Regions from separate parts of the Homo sapiens genome. Here regions 2, 3, 4, 5 and 6 are each linked to region 1. The links are contacts of gene promoters, found by promoter capture Hi-C in blood cells and fetal thymus (Javierre and others, 2016). All regions are on one chromosome and are shown on one strand. The core of a region is centred on a gene start or on the middle of the fragment in contact, and the rest is flanking DNA. Distances in the headings are between cores, read along the strand shown. Region 1 holds the start of FOXC1 (forkhead box C1). Region 2 has its middle 160 kb from the start of LINC02521. Region 3 overlaps GMDS (GDP-mannose 4,6-dehydratase). Region 4 has its middle 28 kb from the start of LINC02521. Region 5 overlaps GMDS (GDP-mannose 4,6-dehydratase). Region 6 overlaps GMDS (GDP-mannose 4,6-dehydratase).

The links. Contacts are between HindIII fragments. The CHiCAGO score rates a contact against its expected background, and 5 or more counts as called.
Region 2: a fragment that was not itself captured here is called in contact with the fragment with the promoter of FOXC1 in region 1 in 2 of 17 cell types (neutrophils and erythroblasts); the score reaches 5.4 in neutrophils.
Region 3: a contact is called between a fragment that was not itself captured here and the fragment with the promoter of FOXC1 in region 1, in 2 of 17 cell types (M1 macrophages and naive CD8 T cells). The highest score is 5.4, in M1 macrophages.
Region 4: a contact is called between a fragment that was not itself captured here and the fragment with the promoter of FOXC1 in region 1, in 1 of 17 cell types (total CD8 T cells). The highest score is 6.8, in total CD8 T cells.
Region 5: a contact is called between a fragment that was not itself captured here and the fragment with the promoter of FOXC1 in region 1, in 2 of 17 cell types (total B cells and naive CD8 T cells). The highest score is 9.9, in total B cells.
Region 6: a fragment that was not itself captured here is called in contact with the fragment with the promoter of FOXC1 in region 1 in 3 of 17 cell types (total B cells, monocytes and fetal thymus); the score reaches 5.9 in total B cells.

Annotation. Positions count from the first base shown.
Region 1 is chr6:1,608,183-1,612,244 of GRCh38, forward strand. It overlaps FOXC1 (forkhead box C1), which reads left to right and starts at 1,733. Exons shown (of 1, transcript NM_001453.3): 1 at 1,733-4,062. The coding sequence starts at 2,264. The coding sequence ends at 3,925. RefSeq lists a silencer at 1,541-2,160 and an enhancer at 2,491-2,590. The HindIII fragment of the contact is 8,300 bases long and covers 1-4,062 here.
Region 2 is chr6:2,469,250-2,473,909 of GRCh38, forward strand. No RefSeq gene overlaps it. Among named protein-coding and RNA genes, the nearest start is that of LINC02521, 160 kb to the right of the region's middle. The HindIII fragment of the contact is 2,396 bases long and covers 1,663-4,058 here.
Region 3 is chr6:2,167,315-2,171,794 of GRCh38, forward strand. The region is part of intron 1 of GMDS (GDP-mannose 4,6-dehydratase); the gene reads right to left. Among named protein-coding and RNA genes, the nearest start is that of GMDS, 76 kb to the right of the region's middle. The HindIII fragment of the contact is 2,892 bases long and covers 967-3,858 here.
Region 4 is chr6:2,604,418-2,608,672 of GRCh38, forward strand. No RefSeq gene overlaps it. Among named protein-coding and RNA genes, the nearest start is that of LINC02521, 28 kb to the right of the region's middle. The HindIII fragment of the contact is 736 bases long and covers 2,152-2,887 here.
Region 5 is chr6:2,219,618-2,224,272 of GRCh38, forward strand. All of the region lies in intron 1 of GMDS (GDP-mannose 4,6-dehydratase), which reads right to left. Among named protein-coding and RNA genes, the nearest start is that of GMDS, 24 kb to the right of the region's middle. RefSeq lists enhancers at 2,325-2,394, 2,561-3,178. The HindIII fragment of the contact is 2,896 bases long and covers 1-2,893 here.
Region 6 is chr6:2,234,944-2,239,398 of GRCh38, forward strand. All of the region lies in intron 1 of GMDS (GDP-mannose 4,6-dehydratase), which reads right to left. Among named protein-coding and RNA genes, the nearest start is that of GMDS, 8.4 kb to the right of the region's middle. The HindIII fragment of the contact is 515 bases long and covers 1,940-2,454 here.

The DNA of each region.
Region 1 (4,062 bases), core at 483-2,982:
CTGCCCCGGGATTCAGAGCAACCTCGGGGCAACCCTCCCTCCTCCAAAGGCTAATTCTAGAAGAGGCAGGTCCTCTTTCCTTCGATGTCAATGTCCATTATGAAACAGTAATTTTTAAATATTCAGGTGACACGGAGATGCGCCTGCTACACGTCAGCGTCCTTCACATGTAACAGCCGAAGCTGCAATTTGAATTTTCCTGCCAACGTGAGGAAGCCGGGATTCGAACCGGGGAGACAAAAGGGGTCCCGAACATGTCCTTGGATTTAATAGATGGTCGGAAATCAGGGGCAGCGGAGCTGTTAAATGCGTCACGCACGCTTCTTCGCAGTCTCCTGAGCTCGCCACTTCCCCCAGCTTCTAGTGAACGACTTGGGATTCAGCCTCCGGGAGGGTCTCTCCTCAAGTCGCTAAAATGCAGAATCGCCGTGCCGGGGGAGGGAGGCCTGGCTCTTTCCCGCTCCTTCGTTTCTTTCCCTCATTTCTCTTCTTCCTGTCCCATTCCAACCACCCAGCGACGGCGAATCTCAGGCGTGTGCACAACGAGCGGGGGCCCTTCCGTGCGTGTCCCCCCAGAATCCTTGAACCGCCCTCTAGGTGCGACCCTGGACGTTCCCCCAGACACACCCGTTGTCTCTGCGAGCCGGCAGCCCCGCGCATGTGGAGATGGAGACTGGCCTGGGGAAGCGTTAAGCTCTTAGACATATTTATTTGCTTCTTGTCATCACACCTGCTAATGTCACCGAGCCCGCAGCCTGACCCCTCATCTGAGCCGAAACGGGCCTGACGGGATCAGAGGGGGCGGCGGCGCGGCGAGCCGGTGGGACCCTCGCGGGCGGGCAGGGGAGCGCGGGGCAGCAGCCGGGCTCCGGCAGCCCTCGCCGCCCGCACCCTCAGGCCGCCAAGGGCCGGCCCCCCGGGGAGGGGGGCGAGAAGCAGGGCGGCCCGCAGCGGGGCGGGCTCATCCTTCGCGGGTGAACGGCCGTCGGAAACTCCCAGCAGGGCCCCGCACCCCTTGCCTTCATTTCGGCTGGGGAGGGGTCATGGAGGGGGGCCAGATGGGCGACGAACCTTCTTCCCCACCGCGAGCAGGGCCTGGCTGTGACCGAGCCCTCAAAATCATGTCCTTTGTAGCCGAGTTCAGGACAGGAGAACCTCCAAGTGGAGAAAAGCCGGAGACGTCAGTGACCCGAGTGAGACTGGCGTTGGAGAAGGGAGGGAAGGGGCTGCGGGAGGGGAGAGGCGGCGGGGAGGAGAGGCTGGGGCAACCCCAGCGCTGGCGTCGGCGGGGCTGGCGAAGGAATGAGAGCGAGCCAGCACGAGGCGGGGCGGAGACGCCAGGGCCACTCGGGAGCCGTGGGCGAAGGAAGGGTCTGCACGGGGTCCCGGGAGGACCCAGGAAGTCTGCGCGAACGGCGGGCGTGGGTCCGGAGGGCCCGGGGTGGGAGGTCTGCCGGGCGCCGGCGGCAGGCAGGTGGACTGCGGGGGGCGAACCGACGGCGGGCCGGGCGCCGGCGCGGGCGCAGGGCCGGGGCCCGGGCCAGGGCGGCCGGCGCGCGTGTGGTCAGCCCCGCGGTCCTCCGGCCTCCGGGAGCGGGCCGGCAGGGCTCGGCCTCCGGCTCATTCGGAGGCGGTTCTCACCTCCCATTGGCTGCCGCCGCTGGCGGGGCGGGGCTCCGCTGCCCGGAAAAAAGTGTAACTGCGTAAAAAAGTCCTCGCCTGGGTGACGGATGCTCAAAAGTTCAGAAGTTTTCCCAATGCTTCCTTAAGCGGCTGGCGCGCGAGAGACCGAGAAAAGGTGACGCGGGGCCCGGGCAGGCGGCCGGCGCGCGGCCCCCCCCCCCCCCGCCCTGGTTATTTGGCCGCCTTCGCCGGCAGCTCAGGGCAGAGTCTCCTGGAAGGCGCAGGCAGTGTGGCGAGAAGGGCGCCTGCTTGTTCTTTCTTTTTGTCTGCTTTCCCCCGTTTGCGCCTGGAAGCTGCGCCGCGAGTTCCTGCAAGGCGGTCTGCCGCGGCCGGGCCCGGCCTTCTCCCCTCGCAGCGACCCCGCCTCGCGGCCGCGCGGGCCCCGAGGTAGCCCGAGGCGCCGGAGGAGCCAGCCCCAGCGAGCGCCGGGAGAGGCGGCAGCGCAGCCGGACGCACAGCGCAGCGGGCCGGCACCAGCTCGGCCGGGCCCGGACTCGGACTCGGCGGCCGGCGCGGCGCGGCCCGGCCCGAGCGAGGGTGGGGGGCGGCGGGCGGCGCGGGGCGGCGGCGAGCGGGGGCCATGCAGGCGCGCTACTCCGTGTCCAGCCCCAACTCCCTGGGAGTGGTGCCCTACCTCGGCGGCGAGCAGAGCTACTACCGCGCGGCGGCCGCGGCGGCCGGGGGCGGCTACACCGCCATGCCGGCCCCCATGAGCGTGTACTCGCACCCTGCGCACGCCGAGCAGTACCCGGGCGGCATGGCCCGCGCCTACGGGCCCTACACGCCGCAGCCGCAGCCCAAGGACATGGTGAAGCCGCCCTATAGCTACATCGCGCTCATCACCATGGCCATCCAGAACGCCCCGGACAAGAAGATCACCCTGAACGGCATCTACCAGTTCATCATGGACCGCTTCCCCTTCTACCGGGACAACAAGCAGGGCTGGCAGAACAGCATCCGCCACAACCTCTCGCTCAACGAGTGCTTCGTCAAGGTGCCGCGCGACGACAAGAAGCCGGGCAAGGGCAGCTACTGGACGCTGGACCCGGACTCCTACAACATGTTCGAGAACGGCAGCTTCCTGCGGCGGCGGCGGCGCTTCAAGAAGAAGGACGCGGTGAAGGACAAGGAGGAGAAGGACAGGCTGCACCTCAAGGAGCCGCCCCCGCCCGGCCGCCAGCCCCCGCCCGCGCCGCCGGAGCAGGCCGACGGCAACGCGCCCGGTCCGCAGCCGCCGCCCGTGCGCATCCAGGACATCAAGACCGAGAACGGTACGTGCCCCTCGCCGCCCCAGCCCCTGTCCCCGGCCGCCGCCCTGGGCAGCGGCAGCGCCGCCGCGGTGCCCAAGATCGAGAGCCCCGACAGCAGCAGCAGCAGCCTGTCCAGCGGGAGCAGCCCCCCGGGCAGCCTGCCGTCGGCGCGGCCGCTCAGCCTGGACGGTGCGGATTCCGCGCCGCCGCCGCCCGCGCCCTCCGCCCCGCCGCCGCACCATAGCCAGGGCTTCAGCGTGGACAACATCATGACGTCGCTGCGGGGGTCGCCGCAGAGCGCGGCCGCGGAGCTCAGCTCCGGCCTTCTGGCCTCGGCGGCCGCGTCCTCGCGCGCGGGGATCGCACCCCCGCTGGCGCTCGGCGCCTACTCGCCCGGCCAGAGCTCCCTCTACAGCTCCCCCTGCAGCCAGACCTCCAGCGCGGGCAGCTCGGGCGGCGGCGGCGGCGGCGCGGGGGCCGCGGGGGGCGCGGGCGGCGCCGGGACCTACCACTGCAACCTGCAAGCCATGAGCCTGTACGCGGCCGGCGAGCGCGGGGGCCACTTGCAGGGCGCGCCCGGGGGCGCGGGCGGCTCGGCCGTGGACGACCCCCTGCCCGACTACTCTCTGCCTCCGGTCACCAGCAGCAGCTCGTCGTCCCTGAGTCACGGCGGCGGCGGCGGCGGCGGCGGGGGAGGCCAGGAGGCCGGCCACCACCCTGCGGCCCACCAAGGCCGCCTCACCTCGTGGTACCTGAACCAGGCGGGCGGAGACCTGGGCCACTTGGCGAGCGCGGCGGCGGCGGCGGCGGCCGCAGGCTACCCGGGCCAGCAGCAGAACTTCCACTCGGTGCGGGAGATGTTCGAGTCACAGAGGATCGGCTTGAACAACTCTCCAGTGAACGGGAATAGTAGCTGTCAAATGGCCTTCCCTTCCAGCCAGTCTCTGTACCGCACGTCCGGAGCTTTCGTCTACGACTGTAGCAAGTTTTGACACACCCTCAAAGCCGAACTAAATCGAACCCCAAAGCAGGAAAAGCTAAAGGAACCCATCAAGGCAAAATCGAAACTAAAAAAAAAAAATCCAATTAAAAAAAACCCCTGAGAATATTCACCACACCAGCGAACAGA
Region 2 (4,660 bases), core at 1,611-4,110, 860 kb after region 1:
TCTTGATGGACCCAGTTTTTGTGGGCATCTGTTTACGCGGCCCTTGCATGCATAGCCTGCCCTGCAGAGCTGGTGGGCATCCCAGCAAAGTCCCAGAGCAGAATGGAGGGATCCCAGTGGGTGCTGCGGGGAGGCTGGCAGTGGCCTTGCTGTACTCACCTTTGCCCACAGCTGGAAATTAGTGCTTCATGTGTGAGGAGCATGTGTTTTCACTTCCCCTGCACCAGGAGTCTCCACACACCTGGGCGTGCATTTATGCTGTGGGACGTGGGAGCAGTGGGGACCATGTGGACAGAGCCACACCTGTACCTGGGCAGGAAGCAGAGCGGGGAATGTGCTTGGGAGTCTGTGCATCCATGCATGTGTGCGTGCATGTGCGTGCATGTGTGCATGTCTGTGCATGCCTGTGGACGTGTGTGTGTGCATGTCTGTGCCTGCATGTGGACGTGTGTGTACGTGTGCATGTGTGTGTGCAAAATGGGGCTGTGGTGATCTACTCTGCTAGATTCTAGGGGTTATAATTGACTTCAGGATGGATCATGAGTAGCTGGTTGCATCTCTGACAAGCTGACCATCCTGCACTGATCCATGCAGGCTATTTCTATGACAAATTGGATTTGCTCCCAAACAGCCCATTCTTGGGGAAATGCACTGCATTTCTTCTTTTTTGGGTAAATGATACGGCCTCAGATGTGGACTGGCTCCTCACCTGGCTGAGCCGGGCGAAGATGCAGGAGGACACGCTCTTCCTGGGGTGGCTGTGCTGAGACCTGCCAGGCCCAGCTCACTCCAGCTACTTCCTCAGGATGGGAAGCCCAGGTGAAGGAGGCACATCGGGAAAGTTTTGGTCATTTTATCTCTTTCCAGAGTAAAGCTCCAATATTGTAGATTCAAGGAAGAATTTTGTTTCATTTCAGTTGTGGGTTTTTCTACCCAATATAGGTCAGCTGGATCTCACAAGCTATTGTGGCTTCTAAGGCATAGCCTGTCGATTCTAAGGAAATTTGTATTGTTCTCCTCCATCAGAGAAAGGGGAGAGTTTCTTGGGGGAGAGGAAGCAAGAATTGCTAAGACTGGTTAAGGAAATGTCTACTCCAGAGTTTAGCTCTCCCATGCCTTTGGGGGACAGAGAATTCTATAAAGATCATGAGGCTTCCCAGAGCTTTCCATCTTTTTAAATGAGGAATTTGTTAAAAATCATCCATAATTTAGTAATATGTTGCTTTAAGATGGCAATATTTTAAAATAAATAACTCCATAGTAATCAATAAGCCTTCTATTCTTTTAATTGTTATTTGCTAGAAGCTTTTGCTGGACTTGCTCCATGGATCACAATTTATTATTTGTTTGGTGTATGAAAATAGTCCATTAGAAATTGTGTTAGAGTTCACTTTATAGCTCAGTATCCAGGAACAGCAAGAAATCTATTCACCTCCCTGTCTTCAATGCTTGATTAGTTCCAGCATTTCAGGCTGATAGCACTTATTTGGTTCTTGCTTGTCTCCAACTTGCAGTAATATAATCTTTTATAAAACATGTATAAAGATATAAAACATATCTTTCAAAGTTTATCATTTATAGCCTATAGATTGAGCCATCATAAAACAAATGATTTATTTATGTTCATTAGTCTTAATTTTAGATGTGTTTCTGCCACTCCGAAGCTTATTCAACCAATTACCATAAATGAGTCTGTTCATTCATTTTCCATGAAATGCACAGGCCCAGCACATGTAACTGCTTTAACTACTTAGCTATTAATTACATACTAACTACATAAATATGGAAAATTATCATACATGTTTTATGTATCACCCCTGAGATGTGCATGTCGGTTTGAAATTGAGTGGAGTTATATCAAAATTACATTTCACTTCTATGAATTCAACCTTACGTGTTCTGCAAAAATAAAAAAAATGTTAAATGCTGTGGTTGATTACACACTCTCATGCTTCACTGTGTGTCCTGGAGTGAAGCAGGGCTGGGGGCTCTGCAGGTGCCGTGCCGCTCATCAGCCACAAGTGGCATAAACATCCACGCACTTATGGCATAAACATCCCATGCGCTGAGTGTGAGCCTAGGGCTTAAAGAGAAATGGCCTCTAAACCCAGGCAACACCTTCATTTGGTGTTCAACCATAGAAGCAGCCAACACTTCTACCAATGAAGGAAATGACGAAGGGCATGTCCACGTGGGGCATTCTGAGGATGGTTCAAGGTGATGCCCTATTTCCCTCTTATGTTCTGATATGAGAAGCTACCCTGTGGGTGAGCTGCAACTCCACTCAAAATTAATGACAGATGGGTGGCATATTCAGCGCAATTTGAATTTCCTCGTTTCTTTCTCATGTTTACCTCTCTGATGTTTCTGTGAATCCTCTCCTGAACTTTAGCCTGCACTCAGCACGTGCTCGTGGCCAGCTGAGCAAACCCAAGGCGAAGAGATGAGTGTGTTGGAAAGTCAGAACAAAAGAGTCGATAGGGCGTGTCAGTCTCAGCGTGGCTCCAGGCAGCACCTTCCCTTGGCAAAAGCTGTTTTTGAAACAGAAAATAATTCGGTTCTGATCCATGTGCAATGCTTACAGAAGCAACCTGTGCCTCAAAGGTCCTCTTTTTTAGGGTTTCTAAGGAGGCAACCATGTCCTAATTAAACACTAAGTAGGCCTAACCTGACCACTGCTTTTCAGTTATACTTTTAAAAGAGCCATTTTCTGAAAATATACCCTGCCCTGAATTGAGCTGAGAATGGATATTTATCATTAGCTATAGCTGATATGCTGTGAAGGTAATTGCCTTCAAAACCTGAAGCTCCTTTAGTCATGAACCAAATGTTAAAATATAGAGTGAATTTAAAAATTATAGAGTGAATTTGGGCATTTCCAAGCACACACGATAATAGGTTTCCTTTGGACTGAGTCATCTGAGTTGACTTTTTACGGAATAAAAATGTAAGCAATAAATGGAGACTTCCCAATTTTCTCTTTATTGGATTCAACAGTCATCTGAATCTGAAGTCCCATTTGCATCGCTGTTAACCAAAAGCTGCGCCAACTTCACCTGGCCCTGCAGATTCTGGTGTACTAGATCATGGTGGCACAGAGATCTGAGGTCGGGTGATGGTAGTAGTTAGGCTTTGTGTGAGCTGGACCCTTCCCCAGGTCTCCAGGAGAAGGTTTCCAGTTGTTGCTATGGCCTGGCTTGTGCGGCACCACTGGGAATGCTGCTCATGGAATAGGATGGCCTTTCCTCCCTTCCCATCTCCAGGCCATCCTGCCATTGTCTGGGGTGAGGTCCTGCTGTAGGCACCCCGGAAAAAAAGAGAAACTCACAGACAGAATGCATGACAGACATAAAATGTGCATCACAGAGCAAAGTGGAAAGATTTCCACAGCTTCCATGGCTGTGTGTCTGTGCATGGATCTCCACAGGTGCTCTACTCTCCTGCCAGTCAGGTGCTCCGGGCTGCCTGGAAATAGGCCATTGGCAAGCGTTCATTAGCCCTAAAACATGGGACAGCCTTTTCTCTCTGGTTATAAGCAGCTGGAATTCCCCATTTTGTGGACATTGCTGCCTCAGGGTTTATAAGCTAGTTACTTCACTGTACTATAAGACCTTGGCCAACGTTAGCAGTAGCTGTCCTCTAAGTGTCCTCCCCTAGTTCTCTTCCCTCCTAAGTTATGACAAGAGCTACGCATATCAGAGAAGGGACAAGAGCCTCTTTTCTCCTAACTCACATTCTCGCTCCATCCCAAGACTCATTACATACATCTGGGTTCCCTTTATAACAGCAAAAATTATGCCCCTGGACATCTATGTAGGAGGAGAATTCATACTTCATCTTAAGGTCATGGAGAAAAATCATGTAGGGGGTGTAAAGGGTTGAAAAGCAATGCCTCTCCCCGCCGCTGTCCAACCTCAAATTTATGTCTACTTGGAATCTGTGAATGTGGCCTTATTTGGAAACAGGGTCTTTGTAGACGTAATCAAGTTAAGATGAGGCCATACTGGAGTAGGGTGGCCTCTAAATCCTACATGACTAGTGTCCTTACAAGAGAAGAAAGCTTGGACGCGCGCACACACACACACACACACACACACACACACACACACAGAGAACACCATGTGAACACAGGCAGCCATCAGGGGATGCTTTGCAAGCCAAGGAATGCCCAGCATTGCTGCAGCATCAGGAGCCGAGAGAGAGGCCCAGCACAGAGGATCCCTCAGGGCCTCTGGAAGGAACAGACCAGCAAACACCTGGATCAAGACTTCTGGCCTCAAGAACAGTGAGAGGATACATTACCATTACTTTAAGCCACACAGTTTGAGGTGATTTGTTACGGCAGCCTTAGGGGTTAGAACTGTGAATAAATGTTAGTAGCTCTTATTAAATTATCTATACTATAAAATGAAACAATACTGCTAGACACTAGTTAGGGAAGTTATCGGTGGTATTTAATGTATCTTACATTGGTAGTAGTGGGGACTCCACAATTATTTCCCACTTCTCATTCCTTATTCGATGGAGACATTTCAGGATTTTCCTCTCCATCCATTCCAGTGAGATGCCTGTGTCATTATTTTCCTTTGTGGCCGATAATGCAAAGTAAGAGGTGTTTTTCTCCTGGGTCTGCTTGATGTGGAGCAACCCCCCTGGGGTC
Region 3 (4,480 bases), core at 1,163-3,662, 560 kb after region 1:
ATACTTACCACACCCATTTTCTTTGTTTTATCTATACTGCCTCATCTAGCTCCTCATCATCCCTAATCTCAACTAGTATACTAGTTTCCTTACTGGTCATCACACCTGCAGTTTCATTTCCCTCTCCAATTCATTGTCTACCAGAACATCATCTACCAGAATGATCTAAAAGCTAGCAGAATGATCTTTCAAAATTCAAATCTCATCAGAGTCAAAACCTCTTCAACTTTACAGGTCCCCCATAAACCTTAATTCTACCAGAAGACATACGATGCCCTTATGATTCCACCTAATCTCTTGCCATGCATCTTCCCCCACCCTCACACGTAATATGCCCTTTCCTGTCTTTACATGCAGCTTCTTCCTAAAATGCCTGCCCCCAGCTAGCCTGCCTGAAAAAAACCCAGCCCAAGCCAATCCTCCTCTGATAATTCCTCTGGCTGCTCTTACCTCCTTGCTCCCATCACAAGTTACACAGACTTCCATTTCGGCAACATCCCACTCCACTAAATCGTATATATATACTGGTATTAATTCCATGGGAACAACATTCCTCTTGTACCTTCAATGCCTAGTGAAACAACCGGATTCACACAGCAGGCAGTCAATAAGTACTGCTTAAATAAGCGAACAAATGGCTGGATGACTAAGGTGCCTTCATTGAAGCATTTATTATGTCCTACCAATTTTAAAAATTCCTTTAAAGTGAAAGTTAGCCAATACTGAGGCAGAAAGCAAGACAATACCATGGCTCTTCTTTGTGGGTGTCATTTCATGCCCCTACACTGAGGAGGTACAAACTTCTCTAAGGGTGCCCCTTCCATCTTTATTGTTTCTACATTTGCCTGCTCTTTCCCTTCCTTCCTCAGAAGGAAAGATGTGTTAGCAACAGTCATGCTCCAATTCTTTCCATTTCCCTCCTTAGCTCTCTGAGGGTCTGCAAACTGCAGGGAAGGGTGAGCGTGAAGCTTGTTCTTTACCAACAACAGCATCCAAAACCAAAACTACCTTGATACCGGACAGCTTCATGCGCACCACTTTAAGGCCTGAGATCCATGAGTAGAAGAAACAAGGAGCAAAGCAAAAGGTCACTTCCCTACAAACAAAATGTGGGCCTCAGAATGTGAGGCAAGAAAATCTTACATGATATGAATGTCAGATGGCAGCCTTTAGCCTACATCACCACAAATCAATATTAAATAACTAAGACAGTGTATTTATACATTGAGAGAGGATACACTGTAGAAAAGACCCTAACTATGCTTCCATTTCATAAACCACAAATTTAGATTTCTACTATGCTTTTTCTTTTCTTTGCTGTACTTTCTGAAGTTAAATGAATCAGTTAAATTCTTCAAATACCAGTCAGAACACATCAACTGCTTCTTTTAAAAGAAACTCTTAAAATGGGGCAAAGTAGATGCCAAATAAGGACTCTGTTTCTAAACATAAATTTAATACAAGTATTGTAAGCAAGGTCAAAATTATTAAAAGGAACTCCACTTCTGAATATTTAGAATAAAAAAGTCTGCTCTCAATTTTGATGTATTTCTAAGTCCTTACAGCCAACAAAGAACAAAAAACTCCACTGGTATTTAAAATTCTATCTGGATATATTACACTGACAAGATATGATTATATAACCAAGACCGTATCATGTAAATACTGAAAGTTTAAAGTCATAGGTAGAAAGAACACTTGAATAAAGATACTAGGATTCAGAGAGAATTTGTAGACTTTATTTTAGACTCCACAGTCATCTTTCCAGAGGGAAAAAAAACTAAAATTCTCCCACATTCTTAGTATCTAGGATAACCTTAAACATCAGAAGGTGTTAAATTCACCCAACATGAGTCAGGGACAAATTAAGAACTGGAAGGCACTTTGAAAAACCTAATAATGAAACAGAAGTTATTAATATCGTTATTACAAAAATACTTAAAAGTCCATTTGATATTAAAACCAGTTGAAAAATCTTCATAAGAAAGAGTTCCTTCAACAACACTACATATAACAGTATGGTGGCTCACGCCTGTAATCCCAGCACTTTGGGAGGCCAAGGTGGGAGGAACACCTGAGGCCAGGAGTTCGAGACCAGCTTGGCCAACATGGTAAGACCCTCGTCTCTACTCAGAACACAAAAATTAGCTGGGTGTGGTGGCAAGCACCTGTAATCCCAGCTACTCAGGAGGCTGGAGCTGGAGAATCGATTGAACCAAGGATGCAGAGGTTGCAGTGAGCTGAGATCACATCACTGCACTCCAGCCTGGGCAACAGAGCAAGAATAGTTTAAAGCCACCAGGCAGCAAAAAAAAAAAAAAACAAAAAAAAAGGCAATATAATTTTAAGTTTTCTGGGAAAACAGAGGCCATCAGAAGAATAACTTATTTTTCCCTTTGATTTCATAAAATATTTGCCAGGATCTGAGACTTTTAACTTACACAACTCCTACAGCAGAACACCATCCTCAAATACTGATTCAAAACACAGATCCAGAGAGAACTCAGTTACGTGTTCAGCTGGCAAGCCCTGACTATCAATTACTGCTTTAAGGGTGCTGGGCTGATTCAGAAGGTGCTATCTGGTGGTATATTAGAAAAGAGGACTGGCTGGGCGCGGTGGCTCACGCCTGTAATCCCAGCACTTTGGGAGGCCAAGGTGGGCCGATCACCTGAGGTCGGGAGTTCACGACCAGCCTGACCAACATAAAGAAACCCCATCTCTATTAAAAATACAAAATCAGCCAGGCGTGGTGGCAGATGCCTGTAATCCCAGCTACTCGGGAGCCTGAGGCAGGAGAATCGCTTGAACCCGGGAGGTGGAGGTTGTGGTGAGCCAAGATCGTGCCATTGCACTCCAGCCTGGGCAACAACAACGAAACTACATCTCAAAAAAAAAAAAAGAGAGAAAGAAAGAAAACAGGATTCGACTTTCTCCATGCAATTTTAAGAGAATGTTATTACTTACAGATTGGTTTAAATCCATTATCCTTGTTACCATATGTTCTAAACTAAATAGAAGCACAATTAGGCCAGGTGTACTAGCTCATACCTATAATCTAAACATTTTGGAAGGCCAAGACAGGAGGATATCTTGAGGCCAGGAGTTCGAGACCAGCCTGAGCAACACAGCAAGACCCTACCTCTACAGAAAAAAATAAAAATTAGATGGGCATAGTGGTGCACACCTATAGTCCTAGCTACTCAGGAGGCTGACGTGGGAGGATCACTTGAGCCCAGGAGTTCAAGGTTGCAGTGGGCTATGACTGCACCACTGCATTCCAGCCTGGGTGACAGAGTGTGACCCTGCCTTAAAAAAAAATAAAAAAAAAAAAGGCATAATTACATTACAGACTAACCCATTTGGTTACCTTTTTTAGAAGTTAAAACTCTAAAAACAGGCCAGGCGCGGTGGTTCACGCCTGTAATCCCAGCACTTTGGGAGGCCGAGGCGGGTGGATCACGAGGTCAGGAGATCGAGACCATCCTGACTAACACGGTGAAACCCCATCTCTACTAAAAATACAAAAAATTAGCCAGGTGCAGTGGCGGGCGCCTGTAGTCCCAGCTACTCGGGAGGCTGAGGCAGGAGAATGGCATGAACCCAGGAGGCAGAGCTTGTGGTGAGCCGAGATTGCACCACTGCACTCCAGCCTGGGCAAAAGAGTGAGACTCCGTCTCCAAAAGAAAAAAAAAATACTCTAAAAACAAGTATGTATCAGACTGAAAAAAATTACTACCTTTAAATATCTGTCAATCCAAATCATAGTACCAAAAATTGCAAATACACATTGGTAAATGAATTCAGGAACTCATGAACTTGAATTCAGGAGTCTGTGCTTCTTAATCTTAAGAGTAAAGCTTATGGCATTGTCACACAACTTTCAGTGGTCTGAGGAGCTTAATAAAATGGAGTGATGAGTCTGTACACATATTCAAAAGATTAAAAGAATAACAACAAAAAAGGAAGACAGGACAGAGACAGAATGTAAGTAATTTGTTTAACATTTTCTTGGCCCATTCGGTCTGCTATAACAAAATACCATAAACTAGGTGCCTAGTTCTCTTCTTTCTCACAGATTTGGAGCCTAGGAAGTCCAAGATCAACTACCCGAACAGACAAGCAAATGGCAAAAATAAATAAATAAATGGCAGATGTGTTGATGATTAGATGCAATTAACTGAGTGGAGAAAAATTAAAATCCAGAAAACAAACACAGAATAAAGTCTGTCTAATTTACCTATGTATCTCTAGGAAGCAGTCAGTAAATATATTAGGATTTAATAAAGAGAAAATAAAACTAACAAAATTGTGCTTGCTGCAGGTGGGTGGATAGCACAGGGAACAAAAAATGAGATCATCATCCTAAGGACTCAGAAATACATAGTGTGAAACTATTTACCACAGAAGCCAGAAGAAAGCATCAGGAAAGTCTTCAATATCCACATTAAAATGCACAAAGACTTCCATGAAAAAGGTG
Region 4 (4,255 bases), core at 1,270-3,769, 1.0 Mb after region 1:
TCACCTGCTGTTTTATGTAGCTGGCCCAATTGGGACCAATAATTCTGATTTCTCCATCTTGTCTCTCTAGAAGGAAGTCCCTTCCCATAGCCAGCCACTGCCATGCATGTGGAGTGACGGCAGAGGCCCATGTGGCCTGTGTGCACTGTGATGTTCTCTGCATCAACATGGACAGAACGTGTGGGAAAAGTAAGAAAAAGAATGCAATGTACACCATAATGCCCTTTATGTAAATTAAAGCACATACACATACAAAACAGCCCAATATGTTATGTAAAAAAATCCATGATTATTTGGTTATTTGAGGACTTGTATAAAACACCTTACACTGGGTCTGGGGGTAGAAGCAGGGGGATAGCCAGGAAATCAGGGGTAAAAGGGAAAACAATACAGCAGGAGAGGAGCCTTGAACAGATTATACTGATAAATGCAATTGATTAAATCTGTCTGTGAGGTCCCCAAAGTAAACAGAAGCAAGAAATCATTTGGCAAAGCAAATAGCCTCTTGTACTGTACAGAGGGTGATCTTTAAATGCTGGCCCTAAGCTTAAGGCAGAGAAGTTTCATGATGGGAAACCAGGTCAGGAAAGATAGAAGCAGAATGGAGGAGAAAAGAAAGAAAGAAAGAGAAGAAGAAAGAAAGAAGGAAGGAAGGAAGGAGGGAGGGAAGGAGAGGCAAAGAGAAAGAGAGAGACACAAAGAGAAGAGAGAAGAAAGGAAGAAAGAAGAAAGAAAGAAAGGAAGAAAGAAAGAAAGAAAGAAAGAAAGAAAGAAAGAAAGAAAGAAAGAAAGAAAGAAAAGAAAAGAAGAAAATACACAGAGAGGCAGAGAAACAGTAGGAAAGAGGGAAGGAGGAAGGAAGGAAGGAGGGAAGGAATGAAGGAAGGGAGGGAGGGAGGGAAGGAGGGAAGGGAAGGGAAGGGAAGGAAGGAAGGGAAGGAAGGAAGATGACCAACCTAAGTGAACTCTGGGAACAACGGTGAATGTTTGTGTTTATATAAACATGTTACTTTAAGATGGTTGACTCCTTACAGACAAAGGCCATATTTTCATCACTTCCTATAAAACCTCTCTACAATACCCAACAAAGTGAGAGGTCCTTGGTGTTCCCAAAGCATTTAAGAGATAACAACAGTAATGTCCATGTGAGATCCTCGCGCTGGTGTGTGGTTTCTGAAGTGCATCCTGCAATGTGAAATGGTAGCTGCTATTCGGTGTTGATAACCTCAGTTCACTGTGGATCCCATCCGACAACGCGTGAAGTCAAGAAAAGCCAACTGTGACCCCACTGAGGGGGAAGCATCTAGTCTCTGCTTCCTGAACAGACTGTTCCAAAAACGGGGCTGTTGTTTCAGTTACTTACAGTAATAAAACCACCGCGACCCCATATCCATCTTTCCACATTCCCCACCTCCCATCCTACCCAAGGTCATGAATATCAAACTTGGAAAGGAAAAGAATGAAGGACGTCTCCCCCAGCAATTAAAATTAAGTCCTTTTTCTTGCCTCCAACTAAAATCTTGGACGTGATGGCAGTTGCATTTAGCGGGATCCCAAATGCTGCTTTTATATGCCAGCATTCCATTCGGGGGGCTGATTTGTAGGTTTAAAAATATGCAATGTATGAAAGAGAGGCTCATTTATTTATTTCCTCCCTTGACTGACCTTGGGCCTTGATTTATCTCAAAACCAAGAGAATTTTCCTCTTGGTAAAGGAGGACTAATTCTTTCAGTGAGTCCTTGATAGTTTCTGCCATCAAAAACAAACCATAAGCTGAATGTACAGAAATGCCCTGCATTTAAGAAAGATGACATGGGGAGTAGTAAAAGCAGGAGGAAGAGAAGTGTGAGAAGAAAAAGAAGCAGGGAAAATCAGGGGGAAAGTGATGTTGAACAAATCATGCACATTTCAAGATTTTTAAAAAAGCAATGCGTTTGGGGATGGATAGCTGTCACCCTTGCCACCTTGGAGGAAAGTTTTGCTGGCTAACTGGCTATTGTCAAGCAGGCCGGGCTGGTGGCCTCGGCGGGCTGGCTGACCTTCCCCTGACTCCAAGAGGAAAGAAATAGTGAGGCTCTGTGTCCTGCGAGTCGGGCCTTCCTGTGACCTGAGTGCAACGTCTCAGCCCCTCTCCGACAACCCTCCAGCAAAGCTTGCTGGAGCTCTTGGTTTATTTTTTCAGGTGAGTGAACGCCGTATCAAATACTGGTTTCTCAGTTGCTTTTAATTAGGCTTCTGGGTTCCACTCTTTCATCTCGCCTGAAATCTGCATCACTTTTCTCCAGCTATTTCAGGTTCTAAAGCCACGGGTTTGCTTTCATTCAGCTAATTGAAGGCACACAGGAAAGGAGAAGGGGGATAATCCCAATCATTGGACATTTTTTAGGGCTGTGATAAACCACACATTTTTTAGCAACAGAAAACCACTTTCAAAACGTTAACTCTGCGGCCTCTGCTCAGGGGCTGGAGGGCCTACCCCTGAGGCTTCAAGGTTCATGTCATGTGGGATTCTCTGAGACTCCTCGATGCAGGTAGAGAGCAGGAGGGCAGGTGAGATGCCGTGATGTGACGGAACAGGCCCCATCACTGTCCCTTTCTGGTGTCGAGCTACTGGGAACATCGCTGTTGAACTGTGTATCTGCAAAGCTCTGGGGTGGAGGCCCAGCCACACACAACATCGGAGAACAGAGCTGATGCTGATGTCCCCTGAAGTGTCAGCCAGCAGCCAGGTGCTTGCTTAATCCCAGAAAGGGCAGTATATATTTTTCAGTAAAATTTTATTAAATCCTAATAGCAGATCTTTTTTTGTGGAGCAAAAAACTCTTGAAAACTATATTCATGAGGTATGTATAATTTGTTGGTTTTACCAAGGCTTTTTAGTAAACAAGCTTTAGATCTTGCCAGAGTATTCAAAATAGGTTTATGTAGAGCAAATATTTAAATTTATCTGTTATTCTATTTTTATAATTAATGAATAGGATTATAGGCATTTAATAAAACTTCTACAAAATAGAGCAGGGTGGGGGGGTGAATCCTACTTATTTGCTACCAAAAGAATCAAAATAACATTTATATTTATATCTCAATATATGGTTCTTCAAGTCATTTCAGGAGATGAAACAGTATGTGTTACCAACGGCTTTTAATTATAAAAACAAAGTGTTTAAATGGATCCAACACAGTCAGTTGGCAATACATCTAAATTCCATGTTATAGTGGCCTTTGTAAGGCAACAAATGGGGAAAGTACTTGTTAATTCATACAACGTCAAAGAATACCTGATACCTAAATAGCTCCCACAGTCAATTGAAAAAAGACCAACTATTGGGAAAATGACACTTTCCAGACAAGATCACAGAAGTTTAGATAGGTGAGAAGATACTCAGCCTCACTCATGATAATTAAAATGCAAATTAAACTATACTGAGATTTCATTTTCCAACTCCCAGGTTGTTTAAAAAAAAAAAACAAACCTAACAGGTTAATATGCTGGTGGCAATGGAGTAGAGGAAAGACATTTATTAAAAGCTGAAGGGCCCAGCACTTTGGGAGGCCAAGGCGGGCTCATGATGAGGTCAAGAGATCGAGACTATCCTATCTAACATGGTGAAATCCCACCTCTACTAAAAATACAAAAATTAGCTGAGCGTGGTGGTGCACACCTGTAGTCCCAGCTACTTGGGAAGCTGAGACAGGAGAATCGCTTGAACCCGGGAGGTGGAGGTTGCAGTGAGCCGAGATCATGCCACTGCACTCCAGCCTGGCAACAGAATGAAACTCCATCTCAAAAAAAAAAAAAAAAAAAAAAAGCTGATGGGAACATATATTGGTTTCAATTTCTATGGGAATTTGGCAATACCTACTAAAATTATAAATGCAAATGCCCTTTGACCCAAACTTCTTTTTCCAAAAATTTATTCGACAAATACATTCACCTAGAGGAAAAGTTCCTCTATGTCCCCACTTTCCATACTGTGCTCTTTGGAAGGAAGTCATTATCTGCAGCCCACATTTATGGGGTGGGGAGTTAATACTCCCCATCCTTGAGGGCAGAGTATCTACAGAAATTATTTGAAATTTTCTGCACAGAACATTTGTCTCTTTTCTTCAATTCATTTATTTTTTCAATCATTTGTTGATATCCGTATGAGTTCGTGGTTATTTATTTTATACTTTGAGTTATCATCCAAAGCTACTTTATTTACTTAGCTGAGTTTTTGATTAAACGGAATGATTGTTTTGGCATCCAGTAAA
Region 5 (4,655 bases), core at 196-2,695, 610 kb after region 1:
TTCTAAATTTACTCTCATTTTCTGTACTTACCTTGTCACAGACCAGTAACAAACAGAGCACCGACCACACCAGTTAAAAGACCACACCTCCTGGGCACCAACTTAAACCAGAAACTTTAAAAAAAAATTCCCTCTGATTTCAGTATCATGAATATTGCTCCTGAGCAGCCGGGTCACTTCCGTTTTCTTCAAATGTCATAAATTATACAACTACAGGTTAAGCATCCCTAATCTGAAAATCCAAAATGTCCCCAAATCCAAAACTTTTTTAGTGTCAACATGGCACCAGAAGTGGAAAATTCCACCCCTCTGGTCCCAAGCATTTCAGATAAGGGATATTCAACCTATAATGGTGACAATGAAGATGATGTCAACACTGCAGAAAAAGTGCCCAGAGACAACATGTTGAAAATGTGTGAAGGGCTTATTCAAGGGCTAGGGCAGTGTGCATTCACAATAAAACATGAAATCCTGTCAGTGTATAAAATCAAAGACTTGTAAGACAAAAATCATGGCTAATGAGGCAGATGACTCCGGAGGAAACATCTTTAAAAGCCATCCAGCAGAACGCCTCCTTATCCCTAGAGGACTCAATTTCCCGGTCCTTCAATACTTCTGATGTTTCTTTTCACCCACCAAACACAAGATACAGGTACGGTAACCTTTTAGTCAACACAAGGCCTCACAGATGGAGACGGAAAGCCTGCTGCTGTGTGCTGTTGCTGTGGTTTAGCAGCTGGTACAGATGTCTGGTGATGCTCTGTGCTGCTTGGTTACCCTGACACTTATTTTCTCGCTGTAATAATGGCATGTCATATTTTTTACTGTTAAGTGCTTTAATGTGAATAGATGTGAGACAATAATTGCTTATACGTAGCATATAAATTCAGCCTCAAGAAGGATGGGGATGCCAGACAACTACAGACTGTCCACATGGGTGGCTCAGATAGAGTCACCTTCACTTTCTGACAGTTCAATGTACACAAACTTTGCTACACACATAAAATTACTTAATGTGTTGTATAAAATTACCTTCGGGCTATGTGTTTAAGGTATATATGAAGATAAACAAATTTCATGTTTAAACTTGGGTCCCACCCCCAAGATTTGTATATACATTTCTCTACGTATATGAAAATATTTCAAAATCGGAAAAAAAAAAAATCTGAAACACTTGTGCTCCCAAGCACTTCAGATAAGGGATACTCAACCTGTACTTGTATGTCCCTGTTTGATAATGGTAATAAAGCTGTGGCCTTCTAAGAAGGGATGTACAAGCTCAGGCACAGTGGTTCACACCTGGAATCCAAGCATTTGGGGAGGCCAACGTGGGAAGATCACTTGAGATTAGGAGTTCACAACCAGCGTGGGGAATACAGCAAGACCCCGTCTATACAGAAATTTTTTAATTAGCCAGGCATGGTAATGTACACCTGTAGTACATTACCACAAGTAATGTACTCCTCAGGAGACTGAGGTGGGAGGATTGCTTGAATCTAAGAGTTTGAGGTTACAGGAGCCACTGTACTCCAGCCTAGGCAACAGAGCAAGAAGCAACACCCAATCTCAAACAAATAAACAAAAAAACACAAAATTGTGGCTCAAAGATTACCTCTCAGCTTTATTCCTGGCTTCACGTAGAATTCCAGTTCTCACTTGTAATATCATGATTTATCCATCTGTTTTGACTTCAATTGCATTTTATTATTTTAATCAAGCTCCCTTAAACACAATATTACATTACTTAAAGTAGTGTCATCTAAAATGTTCTTTTTTTTTTTGAGACGGAGTCTTGCTCTGTCACCCAGGCTAGAGTGCGGTGGCGCAATCTCGGCTCACTGCAAGCTCCGCCTCCCGGCCTCCCGGGTTCACACCATTCTCCTGCCTCAGCCTCCAGAGTAGCTGGGACTACAGGCACCCGCCACCACGACCGGCTAATTTTTTGTATTTTTAGTAGAGACGGGGTTTCACCGTGTTAGCTAGGATGGTCTCCATATCCTGACCTCGTGATCCGACTGCCTCGGCCTCCCAAAGTGCTGGGATTACAGGAGTGAGCCACCATGCCCGGCCTTAAAATGTTCTTTTAACAAAGGGATTTTAGTGAATTTTGCAACATGAGTAAATGAATTAATGAGAATATCATATTCACATTATAGCAGTCCCAAGCAAAAAGAAAACAAACAACAACGAAAAAAGAAAATACTCTCAGAATGTGCCATGGGGTATAAAAGAAGAAAAAGAAGACAATCTGTGGCCACTGCCCACAGGGGCAACAGGAAACTTGGTGCTGCCCCTTTAAGAAGCCGCCAGGTCAGTGGGAAGAAAAAGAGAAAATGAAAGTCAAAGGGCCGTAAAGAAACAGGTTTTCTTAAATAGGAAATACAAAAATTAAACAGTAATTCTACCTAAATTATTCTCCAAAATAATGAAAAGCAACAATGTTTCAGTCTAGGCTCCCCTGCATGGAGGTGATTAGCTGGAAGCGACTAGTATGCTGAAGTCTGATAATGACAGCTTTTACACACTGTCACCAAATTACGATGCAAATTCTATGGAAATCATTAGACCAGCACTCACTGTAAGAAGTATGATCTGGGATTGAGTTTTGGAGCTTCTCAGAGGTTTACTCCGATCCTGTCAATCTGACTGCAGAGCTGCTTTCCCTAGGCGTCTAAAATGCTCTCCTGGGGTTAGAGACCACACCCTGGTGCAGTGAATGGGATTCCTCCAATTCCAAATGGCTCCAAAACCTCTGCTTTCTCCCTCAACTGCTTCCATTCTCACTGCTTATCTCCGACCCTTTGGCCCAAATGTCTCCATTCATTCGGTGCCTCATTACACAATTATTGGGTACTCATCAGGTGCTTAAGCACTGGTGAATGTAAACAATAGAAGCTTGGTCCTTGAGGCATACTGATTCTGTTAGGCAATTTAAGAATACTCACAGCAAAGGGGGAATACTGTAATAGACGCAATTACCAGCCAATTAGGAACAAAAAAAGGAAATGCTGTACTAAGAAATGCTGTGCTGCTTGAGAAGGTCAGGGCAGGCTGAGAGTGGAGCACAGGATGAGTGGCAGGTTTCCAGGCGGTCAGTAGGCACCACAGTAGGTGTGGGGGAAATCTGGACAGATACAAACACGAGCAACATTGAGAAAGACAGTGAGGCAGTTAATTTTGTGTGCTAACTAGGATATGCCAACCAGACTTGGTCAAACACCTGCCTAGATGTTGCTCTGAAGGCTATTTTTTAGATGTGATTAACATTTAAATCAGTACACTGAGTAATACTCCCTACAATGTGAGTGGGCTTCATCCACTCAAAGACATTACCCAGGAGGAACAACTAATTCTGCCTCCAAGCGGCCTAGATGTTGGACTGGAGCTGCAACATCAACTCTTTCCTGTGTCTCTAGCTTGCCAGCCAGCCCTGCAAATCTCAGACTTGCCAGCCCCCACAATGACATGAACCAATTCCTTCAAATCAATCAATCAATCAATCAATCAATCAATAGCGCGCTCTCTCTCTCTCTATATATATATACACACATATATATATATCCATATCCATCCATCCCACTGGTTCTGTTTCTCCAGAGAACCATGACTAATGTGGATATGGTGAATTCAAGAAACTATCCGTACAAAATGGCTGGGTTACAAAACACACACAAGCCAGGGGGCATGTGGTGCAAAGGCAGGAAAGTGCTAGTCACAAAGGCACTGGGACACTGGAGAGTTTACACTCCCCCCAGGGCAAGAGAGAGCCACCAATAGTTTAAGCTGAGGAGCGACCATCTGACATGATCAGATGGTCACTCCAGCTAAAACTCACTGGCAGCAAATGAATGGAAAAAAAAAAGACTGGAAGCAGAAGACCAGGTAGGAGGTTACTATAACAGCCCAGGCAGGACAAGGTAACTGATGTGGGCAAGGAAAGGACAAGAGATGACACCGCTACCAAAGCTATGCTAGTGGGGTAAAATCAGCAGGACCTGCTGGTGAAGACATGAGGAGTGAGGGGAAAGGAGGACGATAGGATGACTCCAAGATTTCTGACTTTGGCTCCCAAATGGATTGTGGTCCTGCTTTGAAATAGGGTGGGGAAAAACACAGAGATGATAGAAGGGAGGGACATGTGGAGTAGGAGATGTCTATGAAATACCTACATGGAAATGTTGAGGCATTTGGAACTCAGGGTCTGGAACTCAGGAAACAAATCTGGACTGGAGACAAGGCTTTGGGATTCACAAGGGAAGAGTGACTGCAGTTGTAGACATAGAAAGTGAACAAAGTAGGAGAGAGTCAGGAATGGTATGTTAAGACACACTAACCTGCAAGGGTGGGCAGAACAATGCACTGACAAAGAGGTACAAGGAAAACCAGCAGAGGAGGGAAAATCAAGAGGAAAAGTGACAGTGATAACACACGCCAACAAAGCAAGTAAGACAAGGACTGAAGTTGCAGGGTTTAGCCGTGAAAGGTAATTTAGAAGATCTTATATAACAACAGTTTAGGGTAGGATGGGGAAAGCAACCAAATATAATGAGTTGAACAGTCCTTAAGAGATAAGAAAATGGACATAGTGACTGAAGCCACTGGGCTGTGAAACAAAGGCTGGGGGAATAATGAGAAAGATACTGACAGCCCGTTGT
Region 6 (4,455 bases), core at 947-3,446, 630 kb after region 1:
GGAGAAACCCCGTCTCTACTAAAAATAGAAAATTAGCCGGGCGTGGTGGCACATGCCTGTAATCCCAGGTACTCTGGAGGCTGAGGCAGGAGAATCGCTTGAACCTGGGAGGTGGAGGTTGCTGTGAACCAAGATTATGCCATTGCACTCCAGCCTGGGCAACAAGAGCAAAACTCCATCTCAAAAAAAACAAAAAAACAAAAAAACAAGTGATGATACGTGTACACAAAGGTGCCACAGCCAACAGAGTTAGAATCATCCCCTTAGGGGTGATGGGGAAGCAGGCATATTCTTCTTCAGGGCTGGAAAAATGTCCTTCTGAGCTAGACTTCTTCAGGCCAACTGAGACTAATCTATCAGATTAAACTTACTAAACATTCCAACAAAATCAAACCTACTATACTTCCCATGCCTATACATACAGGGAAATATAAAATGCCTCCCCCAGGGACAATGCCTAATTCATTCCATACTAAGCACCCAAATCCAGGTCTTATCATTTTGTTCTTCAAGCAAAAAGAAAACAAATGCAAAGCTGGAGCTCCCCATAGTCTGCATGGAGACATAAGAGGAAAACTGGGGCCAGGCACAGTGGCTGACACCTGCAATACCAGCACTTGGAGAGGTTGAGATGGTAGAATTGCTTGAGCCAAGGAGTTTGAAACCAGCCTGAGCAGCACGGCAAGACCCCATCTTAACAAAAAAAAAAAATACAAAAATTAGCCAGGCATAGTGGTGCACATCTGTGATCCCAGCTTCTCGGGAGGCTGAGGCCAAAGGATCGCTTGAGCCCAGGAGGTTGAGGCTCCAGTGATCTGTGTTTGCACTGCTGCACTCCAGCCTGAGCAAGACCCTTTCTGGAAAATAAAAAAAAATAAAAAAAATAAGAAAAAAAAAAAAAGAGGAAAACTGGTCTGTGTTGCCAATCTGGTAAGTTTCAGGAACAAGGCAAACAAATGGTGTTGGGAGCCAGTTCTCTATGGGTCTCTCCAGTTTCTGCATGTCTTATGAGCAGATTGCACTGACAGCTTTTATTGGCTACTATCTTTCCTGTACAGGACATCTGTAGATAGCATTTTAAGATAGCAATAGTGTTTCTCTCTGGAGCAGATGGAAGATTTGTTTGCTATGCAGAATAATAAAAATAATGTCTCCCTCAAAGCAAAGGCTGGGCAGGATTATTAGTTCCCTTATAAAAAATTGGGGTTTCCCAATCTCAGATTTTCTCAACTGTGGTGCATACCCACTGCATGGGCAACATCCACCTAGACCCACCCAGCCACCGTGTTACCCACATGGTCTTTGAGGGGCAAGAAAATACTATACAAACAGAGCTGTCACAAACATGAAGTTCATACTGCCTGCTGACCCAGGAGTGCTGTGTCTTCTGCCATCATCCGTGGAATTTTAAGAAGCTAACTTGTTAGCCTGCAAGTAAGGTAAAATCTCAGGCCTCCCACAATTCTTGACAAACAGGGTTTCTGCTGTCTTTCTCCTTGACTGGGTTTACTCCAACAAGCATATATGCCACACTTGCATTTTGTCCTGCAGGTCTCTTGCAACAAAGCTTCCATTTTGAAGGATTCCACTGTAAACTACAATAAACACGTTTATCAATATTGATCACCAAAAAATACTACTAGTGTCTGCATATACTTGCAAAATTCCAATTCATCATTTTTAAAGAACCGATGTAAAAATATAGTTCGAATAAAGCAATACTAAAAATCTAACTTTTGTGAAAAGTGATAGAAATACAGTACCATTCTAAGAAACATAGAAAAATCATGTTTTGATTTTAAAAGATTTCTAAAAGTGCCAATTAGAGGCTTTTTCACTCAGCATTAAGGAACATATTTTTGTTAAACATGATCAAGCAATTCATTTCACATTACAATCAAACCAAATGCTCAAGCATAATATATATATAATACAACCAAGCTTTGGTGGTTCATTTTCCCAAGTGTAATTAGTCAGTATAAAGAAATACTTTCTATAAATCCCTAGTAAATACCTTTATTTTTTCACTCTTAAGTTTAAAAGAACTTAGTATGAAGATCTGAGAAAGGATTCCCCTAGAATCACATGTGGTAAATTGTTTAAAAGGCACAGTATGAACAGTCTGAAACAAATGAAGTAAATACCCTTCAGCCAAGAACGTCACTGCATATAAAATCATCTAACCTCAAGTCTATGTAACTCAATTCTACATAAGTAAATGCCAAAATAATATCCTGGAAAGCTGAGTCATTTCAATGAGTAAATTTATATAAACAATTGGGTTACTACTTATGGTAAGTCACAAGATTTTGGCAGGAAAATTGCTTACTAGCTTGCCAAAGACTAGGTTTGGCACATTGGTGCCCCACTGCCAAGAACATTACTGATAATCAGCTTTCTATCCTATAGGATTACCTTTCAGACATGTTTTACTCACTCATTTCCTATGTATTAAGCTTATACAGGAATGGTTAATGCAACTGAGCACCTTACTTCTGGAAGTGTGAGATTCCCAAAATTCCTCAAGAAAGGAAGAAAAGCATGAGAAATTGTAAATTGGAAGTTTGGAAGTACCTTTTTTTTTTTTTTTTTTTTTGAGACAAAGTCTCGCTCTGTCACCCAGGCTGGAGTACAGTGGTATGATCTCGGCTCACTGCAAGCTCTGCCTCCCGGGTTCAAGCGATTCTCCTGCCTCAGCCTCCCGAGTACTTGAGATTCCAGGCGCCCACCACCATGCCAGGCTAATTTTTGTATTTTTAGTAGAGATGGGGTTTCTCCACGTTGGCCAGGGTAGTCTTGAACTCCTGGCCTCAGGTGATCTACCCACCTTGGCCTCCCAAAGTGTTGGGATTACAGGCATGAGCCACCTCGCCCCGCCTGGAAGTATCTTTAACATTAGGAAATGCAAATAATCAACAAATAAATAAAGGAGAAAGAAAGGAGAAAACTGAAATATACTAAGAATAGCCTGGTTAACATCAATCATGAAACTAAAGGGAAAGTGTTAATTTTCATGCCTTCTAAGTAAGAGCTACAGAAAGTTCTGGGAGACAGGGAAGAAGACTGGCTAAAGGTACAGCACAGCAGCATGGCCACCTTTAGGACTTGCCCACTCTACAGCAGCCACCTCTGAGCACTTTTAAGTCATTTTTAAGACAAAGAGGCCAGGTGCAGTGGCTCACACCTGTATTATCAGCACTTGGGAGGCCAAGACCAGAGGATTGCTTGAGGCCAGGAGTTCAAGACTAGCCTGGTCAGCTGGTGAGATCCTGTCTCTACAAAAAAAAAAAAAAAATAGTAAAAAAATCAGTCAGGCTTGGTGGCAGCTACCAGGGAGGCTGAAGCAGGAGGATCACCTGAGCCCAGGAGTTCAAAGCTGCAGCGAGCTATGATTGCACCACTGCACTTCAAACTCCAGAGGAACAAAATAATTCACTGTCTTCCCCCAGAAAACTGATTTTCCTTCCCAGTGGTTGCATTTCTGGCCATACTATTACCATCCAACCTGTCACCAAAATGCATTTGCATCCTTGATCTCATTATCCTCATACTTTTACTATTCTCATTCATCCTACATACCCCTAACTGCATTCCCAAGCACTTCTCCATCCTTCTCTCATTCCTTCCCACTGTGAGAACTTATTCATAATAAATAAGAACTATCACTTCATAAACACTACATGCCAGGAACAGTGATAGGCCTTATTATAATATAATCATCATTTGTAATCCACACATCAATTTGTGATGTGGGCATAATTAACTCCATTTTTCTACCCAAGAAAAACCCAAGAATTTAAAACTCCTTCCTCTATCCTAATTTCCCTGATTTGAACTTTACAAACATGTACCAAAATATCACACATACCCCATAAATATGTACAATTATTATGTACCAGTTAAAAAAAAAATCGTTCCTCACCAAAAAGTCACTTCATTCATTTGATATGTCCTACAAAGATGGACAGCTCCAAGTTTTCACTCTATCCTTACAAATTCTGACAACATACAACTCATATGAATTTCTTCTTAGTTTACAAACTTAATTTCAAATTCAGTAAAATTAATAGTTCATTGGTTTCATTTAAAAAAAAAACTATCCTGGCCGGGCACGGTGGCTCACGCCTATAATCCCAGCACTTTGGGAGGCCAAGGTGGGCGGATGACTTGAGGCCAAGAGTTCAAGACCAGCCTGGCCAACATGGCAAAACCCCAACTCTACTAAAAATACAAAAATTAGTTGGGCGTGGTAGCGCACGCCTGTAATCCCAGCTACTCAGGAGGCTGAGGCACAAGAATCACTTGAACCCAGGACACGGATGTTGCAGTGAGTGAGATCATACCACCATTGCACTCCAGCCTAGGCAACAGAGTAAGATCTGTCTCAAAAAAAAAAAAAAAAAATCCAATTGGCTTTATGTCTAAAACTGAAATTACTGCACTGCTTAAATATAA